Linked DNA regions of Homo sapiens: regions 2, 3, 4, 5 and 6 are each linked to region 1. The links are contacts of gene promoters, found by promoter capture Hi-C in blood cells and fetal thymus (Javierre and others, 2016). All regions are on one chromosome and are shown on one strand. The core of a region is centred on a gene start or on the middle of the fragment in contact, and the rest is flanking DNA. Distances in the headings are between cores, read along the strand shown.

Region 1 (2,700 bases), core at 191-2,690:
TTCATTTAAGTAAAAAGAATAAAAGGTTTTTTAGATTCCTAATGCTAATAATGCTTAATAGGCCCAAGTACCTAGTCTTTAACATTTATTTCTCTAACTGCACTACCCCCACTTTGAAATATTTTGTTTATACCATCACTCCCTACACCCCAAAATTAAAAACACACGTTTCCAGGGCCTGTTTTTATTTTTTTGTTTTTGTTTTGTTTTGTTTTTGCCAGCTAGATTAACTAGAACTGGACCGAGAGAAAGTCCTCACACCTGAGTTCCTTTCTCAACTCTCCACCAACTGAACCGGGATGGAAACAGACTAGTGAAGTTCTTTCAGTTCCCTTAAAGGTACTTTGAGGTATATAGCAGGTATCTGAAGAATGGCCAGTTTACTCTAACACTCTTTGGTGGGCAAAGTACGAAAACTGAAAGACAGCCTAAAGGATTCCATTAAGAAAAAAGAGAAAAAATAGCCTAATAAAATATAGGTGTCGGAGGACCAATTGTGCAAAAGAGAATCAAGCTGGAGCTCCCTATTTTGCAGGAGCTGGGGCTGCACAGGGTGGAGGGATATAACGATTCTCTAGACTTCTCAAGACTGCCTTTAAAAAACTACCTCAACTTCGACTTCTAATCAATGATCTTGCAGCAAGTTTGTATCTGACCTGGAATTAGAAACAGCTTCAGATCCCTACTAAGCAAGTTTGCTTCGGGGTGGGTAGGGGTCTCACCCAATTACCAAGTCTGTAAGCTGATTCCCAGCACTTCCTATCTATCATCTGAGTAAAATAAATATAAGTGGAAGGCAAGAGTTCTATAAACATTGGGTATCACCACTGTATTTTAAGGTAGAGTGACAGGTGTCCTGTAGAGTCCCTGTAATCACCGGTAACTCTTCAAAAACTTCACGGAGGTTGTATTAGTATTTCCTGACTTGCTCCCGCTGACACATGCCTCCAAGGTCAGCTGGACCAGTGCTACTCATCACCGCAGTGCAGCTAACTGGACGGCCCACCGGAGGCGTGGACTCCTCGGGAACAGGCAGCTTGCTATGAGCCCCCGGCCAGGTCAGTGCATCTCTCTGGCCCTGTTTTCTTATCCCGACTTTCCCCGCTGAGAAAATAACGTGGCCGGCCAGAGGCTGGGGGCGCCGCGTGACCAGGGCTCACCTGTGTCCATCCTCCAGCTGCTGGCACAGCGTGGGCTCCAGCTCCAGCAGGCAGAAGTCGCCGGCTGCAGCGCCGCTGGCCCCAGGGCCGAAGCCCAGGCAGTGCACCGCCGGCAGCAGCTCGGCCGCATTCAGCTTGGCGATCTGCAGCGTCGCATCCACCTCGTCGCGGGTCCTCTTCATCGCAGCGCCGGGTCTAGGAGTCCCGCCGCGCCCGGGTGGCTGCGGGCTTGGCGGGCAAGAAAGAAGTTCCCAAGCAGCCGGAAGGTAGGAAACCTGAGCGTTTGAAAGCGCGCCAAGGCGGCCATGGGCGTGTTTCCGGGGCGGAGCGCGCTGCGGGCCCGCCCGCGGGAAGGCCTGCCGGCTTCTGGGAGCGCGAGCCCCTCCGTGCCCCACGCCGGACCGCGACTGCAGGAAGGAAACGCGGCTTCCCGGGGGGCGGTCTCGGCGGAAGCTCGCAGGGGCAGAGCTGCGACTCGGCGGGTTGGGACACGGATCCCTCGCCCACCCTTTCCGCTGTCCCCTTGCCCGCCCCCCATCCCCGATCTCCGTCCCTGGTTTCCAGCCGATGCTCCCATTTCCTCGCCGTCCACATTGTCTCACCTTCCGCCAGTGGCGGGCCCTGTGATAACCACTTGGCATGTATAATTCCATGAGCCCGTTGCCACAACCCTGTAAGGTGGTGCCTTGGTCATTCCCTTTTGCCAATGAGGAAGCAGGCTCCTTGCTCGTGATGGCAGAGTCAGGAGGTAACAGAGTCTGACTCCAGCCTAGCCGACTGTGGCTCTAAAAGCTTCCTGCGGGGTTTTGTGCAAATAACCCATGCTCGGGAGCGAGGCCCTGGGAAGGAGTATCTCGCTTCTTTGGGTCAGGGCACCATCATATCTGGAGACAACGGCGGGACTAGTCTATTCGTTGAATACCTAGTGTTAACCGAAAAGTGACTGATGCAGGTCTCGTTCAATAGAGGTTTATTTAAGCAAGGTTGAGGACGCACCCGAAGGGAAAAACAAGTCACAGGAGCATCTGTGACTTGTACATTTTCCAAAGGTTTGGGGAACTTCAGTATTAAGAGTTTTAAGAGAAAAGGTTTTCACTATGCACACATACATGAATTGCTTGTAACAGCGTAATGTGTAAACTTTCCCAGAGATGCTTAGGGAATCGTTGAGGGCCCTGGCTGTCCCTGAGAGCTAAAATAGTCTGGGAGGAATCACTTAAGAGATGGTGACCTCCTACTAGTTAGTGCAAATCAGACCTTGCTTGAAGTGAAAGAAAGTGGTGGGTAAGGTGTTGAATTCAAAGGATCTGAGCAGACATTTTTTTCAATTCTTGGGTAAAATGATACGAAAATACCAGAGTAGGGCATCCCAGGAGTCTGGGCAGTGCTTTCGTTGGTGGTGGAAAGATTGGTTCATGTGACCTACTTCTTCACTAGCCTCTTTTACATTTGAATGCATAGGAATTCGGTGGAATGAAATCCTGAATGTGACAGTGGTTGCCTGATAAGAAGTTATTATTGAAGGGAATCAACCATTGTA
Region 2 (2,700 bases), core at 113-2,612, 550 kb after region 1:
CCTTTCAGGGAGGATATGATTCCATTCATGCATTCATTTATTCAACAAATTGACTGGTCAGGTCCTGCTGTGGGCGCCGGGAATAAAGTAGTGAGCAGGACCCAGTCCTCATCTTTATAAAGCAGTTTCTAACAGTGGATTATATATGTGTGCATGTGTGTGTGTGTGTGTGTGTGTGTGTGTGTGTGTGTAATTGTTATCTAATACAGCTATGATATATATTTTATATACAATTTATATATAGTATACTTATATATAAAAATATATGAAACACACACAAGCTTTGATCTTTGAAGTGAAAGACGAAAGTTTTAAATTTTCATTTATGTGCTTAAAATATACTTGGGAGATTAATGAATCATCTAAGAAATAGCTAACATAAAACTTTCCTTAATTCATTCTCTAAATTGTGCTAAACTTTCCATAGCTATCAAATGTTCTGTAACAACTATCTATTTTGCAGATACTTGTCACTAGCAAAAACTGCCTTTATACAAAGTAACTTTCGAAAATAGTATTACATTTTGAGTGAGAAAACAGAACTTTAAAAAGCCTCATCTGAGTTGTAGAAAATATTCTCTGGTGCTTGTGACTGCTCAAAAACAGTTAAAATCACACCACATGCCACATCATTCTGTTTCCTATAGCAAATTCTTTACCATACGCATCCCTATGCAAAACACTGCCTGCTACTCATTAGATGAAACAAGCAAAATACTGCTACTCATTAGGATGAAATAAGCACATATCAAAAAAGCAGATTCAAATTCAGAATTCAGAAATGACAGAAGTCAAAACATTTATATTATCTTGAAAATGGAGTAATTTCTCACCTCTTAACATTAGGAAAAAACTTTTCGGAGATTTTAGTTTGTATTATAAAATGGTAGGAAAAATTTACTTGGTTGTGAATGAAACAAAACATCAAGTTATGAAGCACATGGTTTATGCTACATTAAGATAAGTGACACTTAACATTATTGGTCCTACTTCCCAGCACTTTGGGAGGCCGAGGTGGGCAGATCATGAGGTCAAGAGATCGAGACCATCCTGGCCAACATGGTGAAACCCAGTCTCTACAAAAAATACAAAAAATTAGCTGGGCGTGGTGGCGGGCTCCTGTAATCCCAGCTACTTGGGAGGATGAGGCAGGAGAATTGCTTGAACCCGGGAGGCAGAGGTTGCAGTGAGCCGAGATCGCGCCATTTCACCACCCCAGCCTGGGCAAAAAGAGCAAAACTCCATCTAAAACAAAACAAAACAAAACAAAACAAAACAAAACAAAACAAAACAAAAAATACATTATTGGTCCTACTAAGAATAATTTATTTTTCAAGTAAAAAAATTCCCTATTTCAGCTGTAAGTCCAGGAAATTGAGTGTAGCTTAAGTGTAATAAATCTCAAAAAAATTTTTTTCTTCAATAGGTTTTATGTCTTTTCACTCTTACATAATATTTCTTAGTATAATGCTTATTCTATGAAACATTTAAAAGACTAAAATAATATTTGGATGGTGAACTAATCTTAAAAGCGATAAAAGGTCAGTTTGAGTTTTAAGTCACTTCCATTGAATGAATGAAATTATTTAGAATAAACCATTTCAGGAAATCTGGTGACATCACATATTCTTTAAAGATGCTAGCTATACTGAGAGGTAAAGTAATGGTGCCTTAATACTAATTTTCCTAGGCACTGTAGCACCATCCTGATCCGAAAAAGCTCAACATACATTTAAATAAAATGTTTTTTTAAATCCTTTCTTGATTATTCTTTTTTGTTTCTTCCCTTTCAGATCCAGACCTACAGATCAACATACTTTTAAATAAACTAAACCTGTAAGATTGTTGAAAATTTTTGCCAAATGATTTTTTCAATTAAAATGAACAGAAATTGCCATTACATTCAACTGCACTTTTTTAGTCAAAATCTGTATCAGCTAGGACTTATAAATGATTTGGGTTTTGTTGTTTAAATAGAGACTACTTTTTTATTTTACTAGCCAGTCCTGATCTATTCACATCCAAAAGAACAGTACAGCTTAGAATGCCTAATTTGAGCAAAACCCAGGACTGGAAAGACTGAAGTCTATCATTGAAGTCAATGCTGAACTGGTTGAAATAGGTAGGAAAGTTGGAAAGTAACCTTAGTCCACAAGTCCAGCTAGTAACTGCTGACTGTGAAGAGCAGCAAATTAAGTTAAATTGTGTGGAGAAAATGCCACATGACTAGACTAGAAGAAAATTATGGAAAATCTTAAAGCTGTCCAGATCCCAGCAACTTATGGATTAGAAAAGGTAAAAATCCTTCTACATTGTCTTTAAGTCTCTGATCTGAAGCATGTTTTATAAAGGCATAGGTAAAAATAATCTTTTTCTGAGTATTAAGTAAATCTGAAAATGGGTAGTTTTTAGGATTAACAGCTTTCATATCAGAGAATATGCACTAAGCTTAAATCCGTGCTCTCTTCTAGAGCTATAGACTGAAGAGGATGCTCACCAATGCAGTGCTAATGTTCCCAGCATCTGGAATCCAGCTTTTCTTTTACAGAGCTGAATGGATCACATATTGAACTCCCTAATCCTCATCCTACTTTCGAAGAGACAGTTCTGCATCAGTAATGGTTGTCCTCATACTTCCTTGTCTTCATCCTTACCATCCATCTCTCCTTTGCAGGCACATTTCTAATAGCACACTCTAGA
Region 3 (2,700 bases), core at 116-2,615, 520 kb after region 1:
AAAGGCTACAGACTATGGGGTGGGGGTAGGGAAAATGAGTGGGCTTATCTGGGGGAATTTCTTGTTTTCCGTTATCCTTTTTTTCATTTTTGTGTCAACAAATTCTCTCCAACTTGGTCATTTATATTTTATTTTTGAGGAAGTATATTTAAATAGGTATCTTAACAAAATACTTTCCAAACTAGAGCCATAATGAACTTGTGCCTGTTCTCTCTTGTTTCTACATCTTTGACATGCTTTATCTTCCACATGGAAAGTCCTTCTTCTCTGCCCCACCTTAGTTTAAATGACCTGCTTAAACTCATACTCAACTTTGTAGACACCTGAGGCTCCTCTTCCTGTGTCAAACCTTTACTAAACTCCACCATGACCATCTTGACAACTATGACACCGCAGCCCCCTTTACCAGCTAACTCTTTGACCTCTCTTCTCCCATACGATGTGCATTCTTTAAGGGGTCTCAGACTGATCAGAGCATGCTTGACTCTTGACAGCTGCTCAACAAATGTTTGTAGAATTCTATTAAGAAGCATTTCATCCTAGCGCAGTTTCATCTATATTCTGGGCCAAATCACATACTCTGCTTATAGCAGGAAAACTTTTCTATCAGTATAAGGCAGAAAATTTGGGAGACAGGAATAACGCCTGGAAGTGAATGATAAGCTTCTATAGCTTTCAAATTCAGATCTAGTAAATGTTCCATAATGTAAGGGAAGTATGTAAGTCTTGTCTTCTGATAAATTTATTCATTCATGTGTTCATGTATTCATCCATCTCTCCATGCATGCATGCATCCATCCATCAAACTTTTAATTAGGATCTGGGGTCCATGAGTTCAGCCATGTGTTGGGGTGCTGGAAAGGAAGAGATGAATAGAGTGACACAGGAGCTCCCTAATTTTCTGCTCTCAGTTGAAGCAGGAAAGATGGCTTGGAGCAGATTGTGGAAGATCTTCTATCCGATGTTGAGATTTTTATCTGAGGGAACAGGGGCAGTGGATATCTTTAAGCAGATGAGTGACCTGATTAGAGTTATTATTTTGGGGTACAATTTTTATAGAATGTACAAGATAGACTGGGGTGGGAAAAGATTGAGGAAAGAAAAAGACATTTAATGAAGACTTCCTATATGTTAGCTTCTGTTCTGGGCGCTTCATAGGAAGTTGATTTTTACAAATTAAGGTAGGTATTACCTTTTCTTCTTTTCTTTTTTGCAAATGTTGAAACATGGAAGGTAAGTAACACACCCAAGGTCACATACATGCACAGAAGAGGCAAAGCAGGGATTCTAACCATTGGTTTGTTCCCAAATTTCACGCAACCTCCCGCATATGTACTGTGCTGCCTGCTGCAGTCGTTCAGATGGTGACAGCCTGGACCACAGCACTGCAGTGGACAAAGAGTAGGAAGCACCAGCTTTGAGGACTGTTGAGGAAAGATTCTGGGCAGAACTTGATGACTGATGGGATCTAGGGTAGTGACATGAGGAAGGAAAGAACGAACGGCTTCATGATTTCAAGTTTGGGAGATTGGTTGAATGGTAAGTCCATTAAGGGAGAGATAAATTTGAGAAGAGGAGAGAGAATGATTTGAGAATGACATGTTGGCTTTGAGGTTTTTCTTTTTTGTCTTTTTTTTTTCTGAGTAAGTACATTATTAGTAGCAGATAGGAACTTAAGAAGGATGAAACAGAAAGGAATGATTTTGGATGTCTAATTAAGCTGTGACAGCAAGACAAGGATTAATCCCTTTGGGCCTGTCCCCAACAAGAAGCGCTGTTCAAATGCAGAATGGAGGTTTCCAAGTATGAACCAAAATATTTGGTTTAAAAAAAAAACACAACTTTTCACTCTAATTTGATGTGGCATCAGAAACATTAATGGAAAGTGTTCATTTGTGCTAGACAAGCTCAGAGTTTAGAAAACTCCTTTGCCACAAAGTCCTGGTTATATCTATACTCTTTAGAATAACTCTATTATCAACAAAAATTAAGTAAATTTTACTTAAATGTTAATGCTTAAAAGTTTTATATTGTTTGAAAAATATTTTGCAACAAGTATGTGCTCTCAGAAGCTTAAGACTTTATTAGAAAATCATAAAAGATTTTAGAATAAAATTCTGCTTTACAAATAATCTATTGCCCTTTAAGTATCATCATTATTATTAATGATCTGGAATGAATGAATAAAAATGAGTCATTGACAGTTAGAAAGATGGTAGGCAATGATAATTTTGAAAGCAGAATAATGGGCAATAGAGTAAATTCATTATTGGGAGTGTTGGAATGATTTTCTTGTTTAAGTAGCATTTATCAATGCATAAATGCTACTCATGGTTTAATTTTTCTCTGCATCTTACTATGTAACAAAAAGTATATGCTGGCATAAAAACTACATTTTGTTGTTTGTTTCTTTGTTTAATTTCATTTTATCTTATTGATTTTTAAAAATTCATGAATAATGTCATAAAATTCAACTATATTAACCTAACAAAGTAAGTTTTATAATGAAATCTAGAGTAGTAAAAATATATATTGTAAAATCTAAAATTCTGTATGCTAACAAAGTAAAAGTAACTGAATAAGACAGAAAAGAAAGGTATAATTATTGAAGACATCCATTTTTGGGTGTCCTGTCATCTGGCCTAAATTCAGTGAATCCTGATAAAACTGTGTCCTGGTTATGCCCTAATAATTATGTCA
Region 4 (2,700 bases), core at 180-2,679, 590 kb after region 1:
AATTTTAGTCAATACCACTATTATTGCAGGAAAGATTTTCTTTGATTTGTACCTCAAATGTATATGTAAAAGAGCTCTTGGGAGTATTCCAGGGGTTCTCATGATAAATTTTACTTCCCCCTTGCGTGTTTAGGGTTTCTTATACACACGGTCCTTGTTTTGTATGATAGTGTTGTTCTTTATAATTGATTGTGCAAAGCAATCCTAATATAATCAATGAGAAAAATTAGAATTGTCCCATGACCTTTAATATCTTTTGTCAAAACATTAAAAATTCTCTTACTGTTATAAAATTTTATGGAAATAAAAAAATAGTAAAAATAAAATTTATTTTGTACCCTGTAATTTTAAAACCTTAGGTACATTGAGAATTAAAGTGTTTTATTTCTTTGTAAAAACCTTACCAAGAGTAGTTTGAGCAGTGCTTGCCACCTTCACATCATCACGTAACTTATGATACAGAATGAACATCTTTTATTGGCGAATTATCATATTCCAGTTGTATCAACTTCCAATGTTTTATTCTTCGATTTTTTTTTTCTTTTTTTGAGACAGGGTCCCACTTTGTTGCTCAGGCTGGAGTCCAGTGGCTCAATCATGCTTCACTGCAGCCTCAACCTCCCCGGCTCAAGTGTCACTATCCTCCTACCTTAGCCTCCTGAGTAGCAGGGACTATAGGCATGAGCCACCACACCTGGCTAATTTTTTAACTTTTTGTAGAGACAGGGTTTCATTATGTTGCCCAGGCTGGTCTTGAACACCTGGGCTCAAGTAATCCACCTGTTTTGGCCTCCCAAAGTGCCGGGATTACAGATGTGAGCCACTGTGCCCGACCTGGACTTTCAATGTTGTGAAATATCTCTGAGTTCCTTTAATATTAAGGTTTTTGCTAGCCTCATTTTCTCTGGGACATCTTCACCTTTTTGATCAAAAGGTGTTTGTCACAGCAGCTATTTTTAGAACTCTATTTACATTAGCTTTGAAGATTGCTTTCAGTGTTAGCACTTTTTGTTTCTTTGGTGTTTCTTTATCTCTCTCTTTTTAAAAAATTCCCTCATCCATTTATCCATTTTTATAAAATATCACATGGGTTTACACTGGGAAACCAGAAGGCAACACAATTACATCCTTTGCTACCTGTGTGTGAACTGAATGGCACTTGCACAGTGACCAATCAATGACGTACTTTAAAAGTAGTAACATGATTGGTTACTGATCATGACACACATCTTTTATGTATACAGTGGTTTTGTAGACTGAGAAGCTTGCAATGAAGTCTTAAACTATGCAGTTATAGTTAGTGAATATACCATGGTAACTGAAATTTGAACCAGGTTGTTGGGGAACTGGTGTTGTTTAAGCTACAGTAACTGGAATTTGTGCATATCAGAACCATGCAAATGGAAACTGCCTGCGCTGAATTTCCTGCCATACTAGGATTATTGATTTCAGTAATATGGCAAGTTTGAGGGACGGAAAGTACAATATGATTATAATTGGGATAAGGGTGGAGAGGTAGGCATGGCTATTTAGAGGATTTTGTAAATAGTGTCAGGGTGTTTGGATTTTTTCCTAATGGTAATCAGCAGCCATTAAAAGCTTTAATTAAGGAGGAGACATGATCAGATCTGTGCTTTTGAGGTATTCTCCCTGCAGTATAGTAGATGGATTAGAGAAAAGTATAGCTATTTCTGTACTGGGGGATTCTGTAGAAGACCAAATGAGGAATGGGAGAGGCAGCCAGGGTGGAGGAAAGTGGATAGATCTGAAGGAAATTATGGGGGTAGAATTCACCTACCTTAGCGTTGAATTGGTATGATGTAGAAGAAGGAAAGGATGAGAAAAGAATCAAGGATGACATTAGGTTTCTGGTGTGGGTAATGGCATGATGGTGGCATTTAGTGAGAAAGAACCAGATTTGGAGGGAATATGACGTGTTCAGTTTGGAACCTGTTAATAGTTGCCTGTAAGATGCAAAGTAAGAAGTAAAAATGTAAAAATGTTTTACATGTTTACTAAAATAAAATGTAAAAATAAAGTAAAAATGTTTTATAAAAGTTGGATATTTGTGTCGGGAACTCAAGATGTAGGAGAGGGCTGGAGATATTAGGTTGGTGCAAAAATAATGGCAAAAAAACCCAATTATTTTTGCACCAATTAATACAAATTATAGAACCAATGTACAGATGTCAGGTGAAGGCATGAGAAAGGATGGGATTGCTTACGGATAGTAGGGAGAACAGAAAGCCTCAAACTGAATCCCAGTATTTAGAAGAACTGAACACCAGTTTTTAAAAAGAATAAGGAGCAGCCAGAAGGATGGGTGCCACAGAAGCCAAGTGTTTTAAAGAGAAAGTAGTAAAATGTGTCATCTTTGATTCTTCTCTTATGCTGAGAGGTCAAATAACAACAGAACTAAAAACCGCTAGATTTAGTAACAAGTCAGTTATTGGTGACTTTGGTGAGTGTTCTTTCAGTGGCATATTGGAGACAAAAAACAGATTGAAATGCATTTGGAAGGAAGTGGAAAAGTTGATGAGGAAATGGAGACAGTCAGGTGTGGACAGTACCTTCAGAAGTTTATCTTTGAGGAAGAGCTAAGAAAGTGAAGTGAAGATGAATTTAAAGGGACCCCTTTTTTTAAAAAAGAAATACTTTGAGAAACACTTGTGTGTATTTAAATGGCAATGACAAAGAACA
Region 5 (2,700 bases), core at 158-2,657, 960 kb after region 1:
TAAATGATAGTTCTTCACTATGGATATGTTGGAACCTTACTGTAGAATTTATTTAAAAGCACTGAGAAGCCATTCATTCCTACTAATCAAAAGAGAGGTGTTATCAAAACAGATACTTGTGACAGATTGAGGAATACGTAGTTGGGAAAGACTGAGATGCTTTAGCATGATTCCTTGCACACAATAGGAATACAAGCCTTTGGCAAACTGAAGCAGGAAAACTACTTAAGGAGATTGTTCAATGGCCTAGGCAGGATGGCTAAAAATCAGTATTTGTGTGGAAATAAAAGAGATGGTTTTAAAAAAAGATTGAACAGCTCGTGATGATTTATTTGATAGAGAACTAGGAAAAGGAGAAGAAGCCAATGAAATAATAATTAGTTTTTATTAAACCTTTACACTGTGTTAGACTCTGTGTGTACTTAACATATACCATTGATTCCAGACAGAAATTATTTGAGGTAGGTAATATCATCCCCATATTACAGATGAGAATGTTGCACTCAACAAGTTCACACTTCCTATAAGCATTGGAGTTGGGGTTCAAACCTAGTCTAACTTACATCTGTTCTCCTCCAAAGCTTATGCTCATAACTGTTACAATATACTAGGCATGAACTTAGGTAGTCAGAAAGAGTGTGACAGAACTTGTCAGGAGATGATGTGAGTTCATTTTAGATTTGTCAAGTTTGAGGGAATAGTGGAACATGAAACAGGTCATGGCCTAACGGCATTATAGTCGAGGGCCTAGATAAGGGCATTTAGGTATTTGTTATGGTTTGAATGTATGTGTTCCCCCAAAACTCATGTCAGAATGTAAGACCCAATATGATAGTATTAAGAGGTGGGGCCTTTGGGAGTTGATTAAGTCATGAGAGTAGAGCCCTCATAATGCAACTGGCGACATTATGAAAGGGCTGGAAATAACTAGGTAGCCCCTTTTGCCTTTCTATCTCTTCTGCCATGTGAGGACACAACATTTGTCCCTTCTGGAAGATTCAGCAACAAGGTGCCATCTTGGAAGAAGAGACCAGTCCCTCACTAGGTGCCAAACCTGCCAGTGCCTTGATCTTGGACTTCCCAGCCTCTAGAGCTGTGAAAAATACATTTCTGTTGTTTATAAATTAGGCAGTCTGAAGTATTTTGTTCTAGCAGCACAAACAGATTAAGACAGTATCATTTACTTAGATGTAAAACTTGGAGGCCAGGAGGAAGAACACACATTTAAAGGCAAAATGCAATTGCTGTACTTCACTTCTGAAATGAAAATTCAAGCCCTTTGAGGTATCACAAAACACTGCATTTACATACAGTGTCCACTGAACTAAACTCCAAAAAGGCAACTGGATGTCTGAAAGTTCTCATCTGCCTGGTGAAGGGACAAAGAAAACCAAAGCAAGCAAAAGGCAGAGCTTGGAGACAGTCTAAGGCAGCTGCCTCCTTTTCCCATCTCCATGAGTATAAATATTTTGCACCACAGAGGAAGGAAATTGTAGTGGAAGTAGAGAGGGGAAAGAATTCTCCCAGGAACATACTACAATAGAATGGCAAATTTCAGGAATAGCCAGACTGACCAGTATAGAGAAGAGTGAAGAAAAATGCTTTCAGAAGTAATTTAAAGGAGAAAACAAATTATCATTGGCTAACTAGAATCTCTGTTTTTCATATGTTTATGTTGAATATTATTTATGCAGGGAAGGAACTATGTTTAAAGTTTTATGGCTATTATAGAATTAAAGAGCTTCAAGGTAACATCTAGAAGTTGTTCCCAAACTTTGGAGGGAATCAGAACCACATGGGGAGCATGTTAAAAATGTGAGTAACATATCTAATAATTCCTTCTACATTTATCAGCAGACATACTTCTGTAATGAAGAGCTTTCTCCCATATACAGCTATTTTTGTTGCCGTCGTTTTTACATTTCACTTCAACATAGATTCTTCCTTAATGTGCCATATTCATTACTATCATTCTGTTTGTTGTTTTGATATCCAAAATTTGGCCACTATGAGCCTCTTCAAGCTGACTCCTATATTCTTTTGACAGGTCCCCTTTGTCCTTAAGCATTTTTTGTTTGTTTGTTTTTTGCCTTCTGGCAGGATTAACTTATATTTTATCTGCCTAGTCCTGGTATCAGCCATTCCTTTAAAGATCCCTGATTCCTTTTAGTAAGAAAGGTCACATAGGAACCAAGATCTGGAGAACAAGTAAGAAAGGTCACATAGGAACCAGGTAAGCTTATTGCTACTAAGGAAGACAGAAGGCGTTCATACTTATATCACCAATTCAAACCTAACATCATAAGGTACTTCCTTACCTTTCCTTATTCACATTTGTATCTCCCAATAAGTGAGAAATTTGGTTTTCAAAAATACCAATAGATTAATTCAGTTTTCTGCGTTCTACAGTATAAAAGGAAATTGTTTCAGAATTATTGTTTCAATAGCAATACCAACAACAAAACTACCGAACAAGTTCAAAATTTCTTTGCAGTTTGTTTTGTTCTTATATATCCCAGTAAAAGTGCACAAAGTACCACATAGATGCTTGATCTAATCTACCATCTAAATACAGGCAAACAGGCAGATTCAGACTATGGGATATTCAAAAAAGCAAGTGGCTTGGGTTCTTCAAAAATGTCAAGTTATGGAAGACAAGAAGCAGGGTGGAATTGCTTCAAATGAAAGAAAACTAAAGCA
Region 6 (2,700 bases), core at 69-2,568, 610 kb after region 1:
TTTGAATAGGACGACAAAGTATTTATTTGATGAAGTGGCCTTTACCAATATTAACCTGGCTTTCATCCTCTAAGAATAACTAATTTACTAAATTTTGAAATTTTAAAATTTATCTTTTATCATTTATCCAACATATATTCTACTGTGTATGAGGTACTATACTAGATTTCGGGAACCCAGTAATGAAGTGTACAGAAGAAGCTTCTGTATTTGTGGAACTTACATTTTAGGGGACCAACAGAAAATAAATAACTACAGACATAATAAGAATTATGAAGAAATAAACAGCCTGAGATAGGGAATAAGTCAAGAGACCCTAGTTTAGATAGAGATTAATAAGGCCATACATTTCTCCAAACTATTTGCAGAGACAGCTTATGAATTAGTATATATTTTTTAAGTGCACTGAGAATAAAAAATACCCTGCTTCTATTTTAATCCAGGTAGCCAAGTAGCTCTCTGTATATCCCTGTCCAGTCACCTAATTTTTTGGAGATGCTTCCTTGTATGGATTGAGAAAATTGTTATTTATCATTAATTATCTATATTGCCAAATAAGGGAGGAAAGGAATATAGATGGTATAGTAGAAAGTCTTAAATAGAAGAGCATGTTTTTTAGAAAACTTGACTTTAAGCCATAGCTATGCCACTCACTGGCTTACAGCTCTTAATATTGTAAACTGGAAATAATAATCCCTCTGTTACCTATTTCAGAGTTGTAATAAAAACCAAATTGAAATGTATTTTATAAACTACCAAGTATGATATAAATGATGGTTGCTAACTAATTTTTTATTGTCTTTGAAGTTTATGTGGCCCAAATGATGGACACACATATGTGAAGCAGTTTCCTTAAAAGTATAAAGCGCTAGATATTAGATATTCTCTAAGTAATTTGAAGGTATGATGAAATTTATAGAAATTTTACAGAGAAATTTGTAGAAATCTTATAGAGACTTTTTTTTTTTTTTTTTTTTTTGAGACGGAGTCTCGCTCTGTCACCCAGGCTGGAGAGCAGTGGCGCGATCTCAGCTCACCGCAACCTCTGCCTCCCGGGTTCAAGTGATTCTCCTGCCTCAGCCTCCCAAGTAGCTGGGATTACAGGCATGTGCCACCATGCCTGGCTAATTTATAGAGACTATTTCAAGTCAAAATGAGATCTGTACCTATAGTTTAACACAGGTGTAACATAAGCATTAGTCCATCTAGTTATTGAAGATAGGCAACACTAATCCTAGAAGCACCCTAAACTATTAATGTTTAATAATATATTTTCAGTTGTTTTGTTTTAAATTTGTTGTATTAGATTATCATTTTTTCTTCTCAAACCATGATTGTAAAATATTACAACATACTTTATTAGTAAGAAATAGAGACTTTATAACTATGTTCCCAGTTCAATGCAGCAAAAGGGATTATTTTTGAAGCCATATATTATGTAACTTAGAAAACAAATCTAAATATGAAGTAATTTATTTTTCTTAAACATTGAGTTATGATTTGTTTTTTACTCTTTTTTTTTTTTTTTTTTTAGACGGAGTCTCGCTCTATTGCCCAGGCTGGAGTGCAATGGTGTGATCTTGGCTCACTGCAACCTCCGTCTCCCGGGTTCAAGCAATTCTCCCGGCTCAGCCACTCAACTACCTAGAACTACAAGCATACACCACCATGGTTGGCTAATTTTTTTTTGTATATTTAGTGGAGACAGGGTTTCGTCATGTTGGCCAGGCTGGTCTTGAACTCCTGACCTCAAGTGACCCACCCACCTCGGCCTCCCAAAGTGCTGGCTTTACAGGTGTGAGCCACTGCACCTGGTCATTTTTCACATTTTTGAAAAAGTGTTTAATTACATACCAGTTCTTTGAAATCTAGTGCTTTATAACTTGGGTTTCAGCTGGGCGCGGTGGCTCACGCCTTTAATTCCAGCACTTTGGGAGGCCGAGGCAGGTGGATCACCTGAGGTCAAGAGTTTGAGACCAGCCTGGCCAACATGGTGAAACCCCATCTCTACTAAAAATACAAAAAATTAGCCGGGCAAGGAGGCGCTTGCCTGTAGTCCCAGCTATGCGGGAGGCTGAGGCAGGAGAATCACTTGTACCCAGGAGGTGGAGGTTGCAATGAGCCAAGATCACGCCACTGTACTCGAGCCTGGGCAACAGAGCGAGACTCCGTCTCAAAAAATAAATAAATAAATACCTTGGGTTTCATTTATTAAACAATTAATTTTTTTAAAAATGTTTTTACTGCTGCTATCTGCCAGATGCTTGTTTGTAATATTGGATAGAATAAGATGGACAGGCCCTTTCTCAAGAAACTTTCATGGTGCTTAAATTCTATTGCTTTGTGTGATCTTCAGTCAGCATCTTAGCTTAAACAAATTATTTATCTATGTAACTATGATTAGCCCCAGAATATAAGTAAAAACTTCTTGGAGTAAAGCTTATTTTACTAATAATTAAGCTAGATTAGGAAAAGACAAGATAGGATTGTTAGGGAGTTATGATGTTCACTAATCTTCTGGCTGGGAAATATTTCTTCAGAGAGAGGAATTTGCAAGCTAGAAACATGATTTCCACAATGACTGCTTGTTGGAGAGGACCTACTGAAAAGATTTAATCAAGATTTTGAAACTCAGGCCAGGTGCAGTGACTCACGCCTGTAATCCCACCACTTTGGGAGGCCAAGGCGGGTGGATCACTT

Evidence for each region. Contacts are between HindIII fragments. The CHiCAGO score rates a contact against its expected background, and 5 or more counts as called.
Region 2: a fragment that was not itself captured here is called in contact with the fragment with the promoter of DSCC1 in region 1 in 12 of 17 cell types (erythroblasts, naive B cells, total B cells and 9 more); the score reaches 16.6 in erythroblasts.
Region 3: a contact is called between a fragment that was not itself captured here and the fragment with the promoter of DSCC1 in region 1, in 1 of 17 cell types (erythroblasts). The highest score is 5.5, in erythroblasts.
Region 4: a contact is called between a fragment that was not itself captured here and the fragment with the promoter of DSCC1 in region 1, in 9 of 17 cell types (total B cells, naive B cells, non-activated CD4 T cells and 6 more). The highest score is 10.5, in total B cells.
Region 5: a fragment that was not itself captured here is called in contact with the fragment with the promoter of DSCC1 in region 1 in 1 of 17 cell types (total B cells); the score reaches 5.8 in total B cells.
Region 6: a contact is called between a fragment that was not itself captured here and the fragment with the promoter of DSCC1 in region 1, in 1 of 17 cell types (total CD4 T cells). The highest score is 5.1, in total CD4 T cells.

What each region holds. Positions count from the first base shown.
Region 1 is chr8:119,854,454-119,857,153 of GRCh38, forward strand. DSCC1 (DNA replication and sister chromatid cohesion 1) reads right to left here and starts at 1,441. Exons shown (of 9, transcript NM_024094.3): 1 at 1,161-1,441. The coding sequence starts at 1,342. LOC105375728 (a long non-coding RNA gene) reads left to right here. Exons shown (of 4, transcript XR_928590.3): 2 at 222-349; 3 at 953-1,426. RefSeq lists an enhancer at 1,113-1,422 and a silencer at 1,533-1,592. The HindIII fragment of the contact is 2,867 bases long and covers 1-1,950 here.
Region 2 is chr8:120,406,402-120,409,101 of GRCh38, forward strand. The region is part of intron 6 of MRPL13 (mitochondrial ribosomal protein L13); the gene reads right to left. Among named protein-coding and RNA genes, the nearest start is that of MRPL13, 37 kb to the right of the region's middle. The HindIII fragment of the contact is 2,167 bases long and covers 280-2,446 here.
Region 3 is chr8:120,375,605-120,378,304 of GRCh38, forward strand. No RefSeq gene overlaps it. Among named protein-coding and RNA genes, the nearest start is that of MRPL13, 68 kb to the right of the region's middle. The HindIII fragment of the contact is 1,409 bases long and covers 662-2,070 here.
Region 4 is chr8:120,447,397-120,450,096 of GRCh38, forward strand. All of the region lies in intron 2 of MTBP (MDM2 binding protein), which reads left to right. Among named protein-coding and RNA genes, the nearest start is that of MTBP, 3.3 kb to the left of the region's middle. The HindIII fragment of the contact is 335 bases long and covers 1,263-1,597 here.
Region 5 is chr8:120,819,189-120,821,888 of GRCh38, forward strand. No RefSeq gene overlaps it. Among named protein-coding and RNA genes, the nearest start is that of SNTB1, 8.5 kb to the left of the region's middle. The HindIII fragment of the contact is 1,657 bases long and covers 580-2,236 here.
Region 6 is chr8:120,464,699-120,467,398 of GRCh38, forward strand. All of the region lies in intron 10 of MTBP (MDM2 binding protein), which reads left to right. Among named protein-coding and RNA genes, the nearest start is that of MTBP, 21 kb to the left of the region's middle. The HindIII fragment of the contact is 2,238 bases long and covers 200-2,437 here.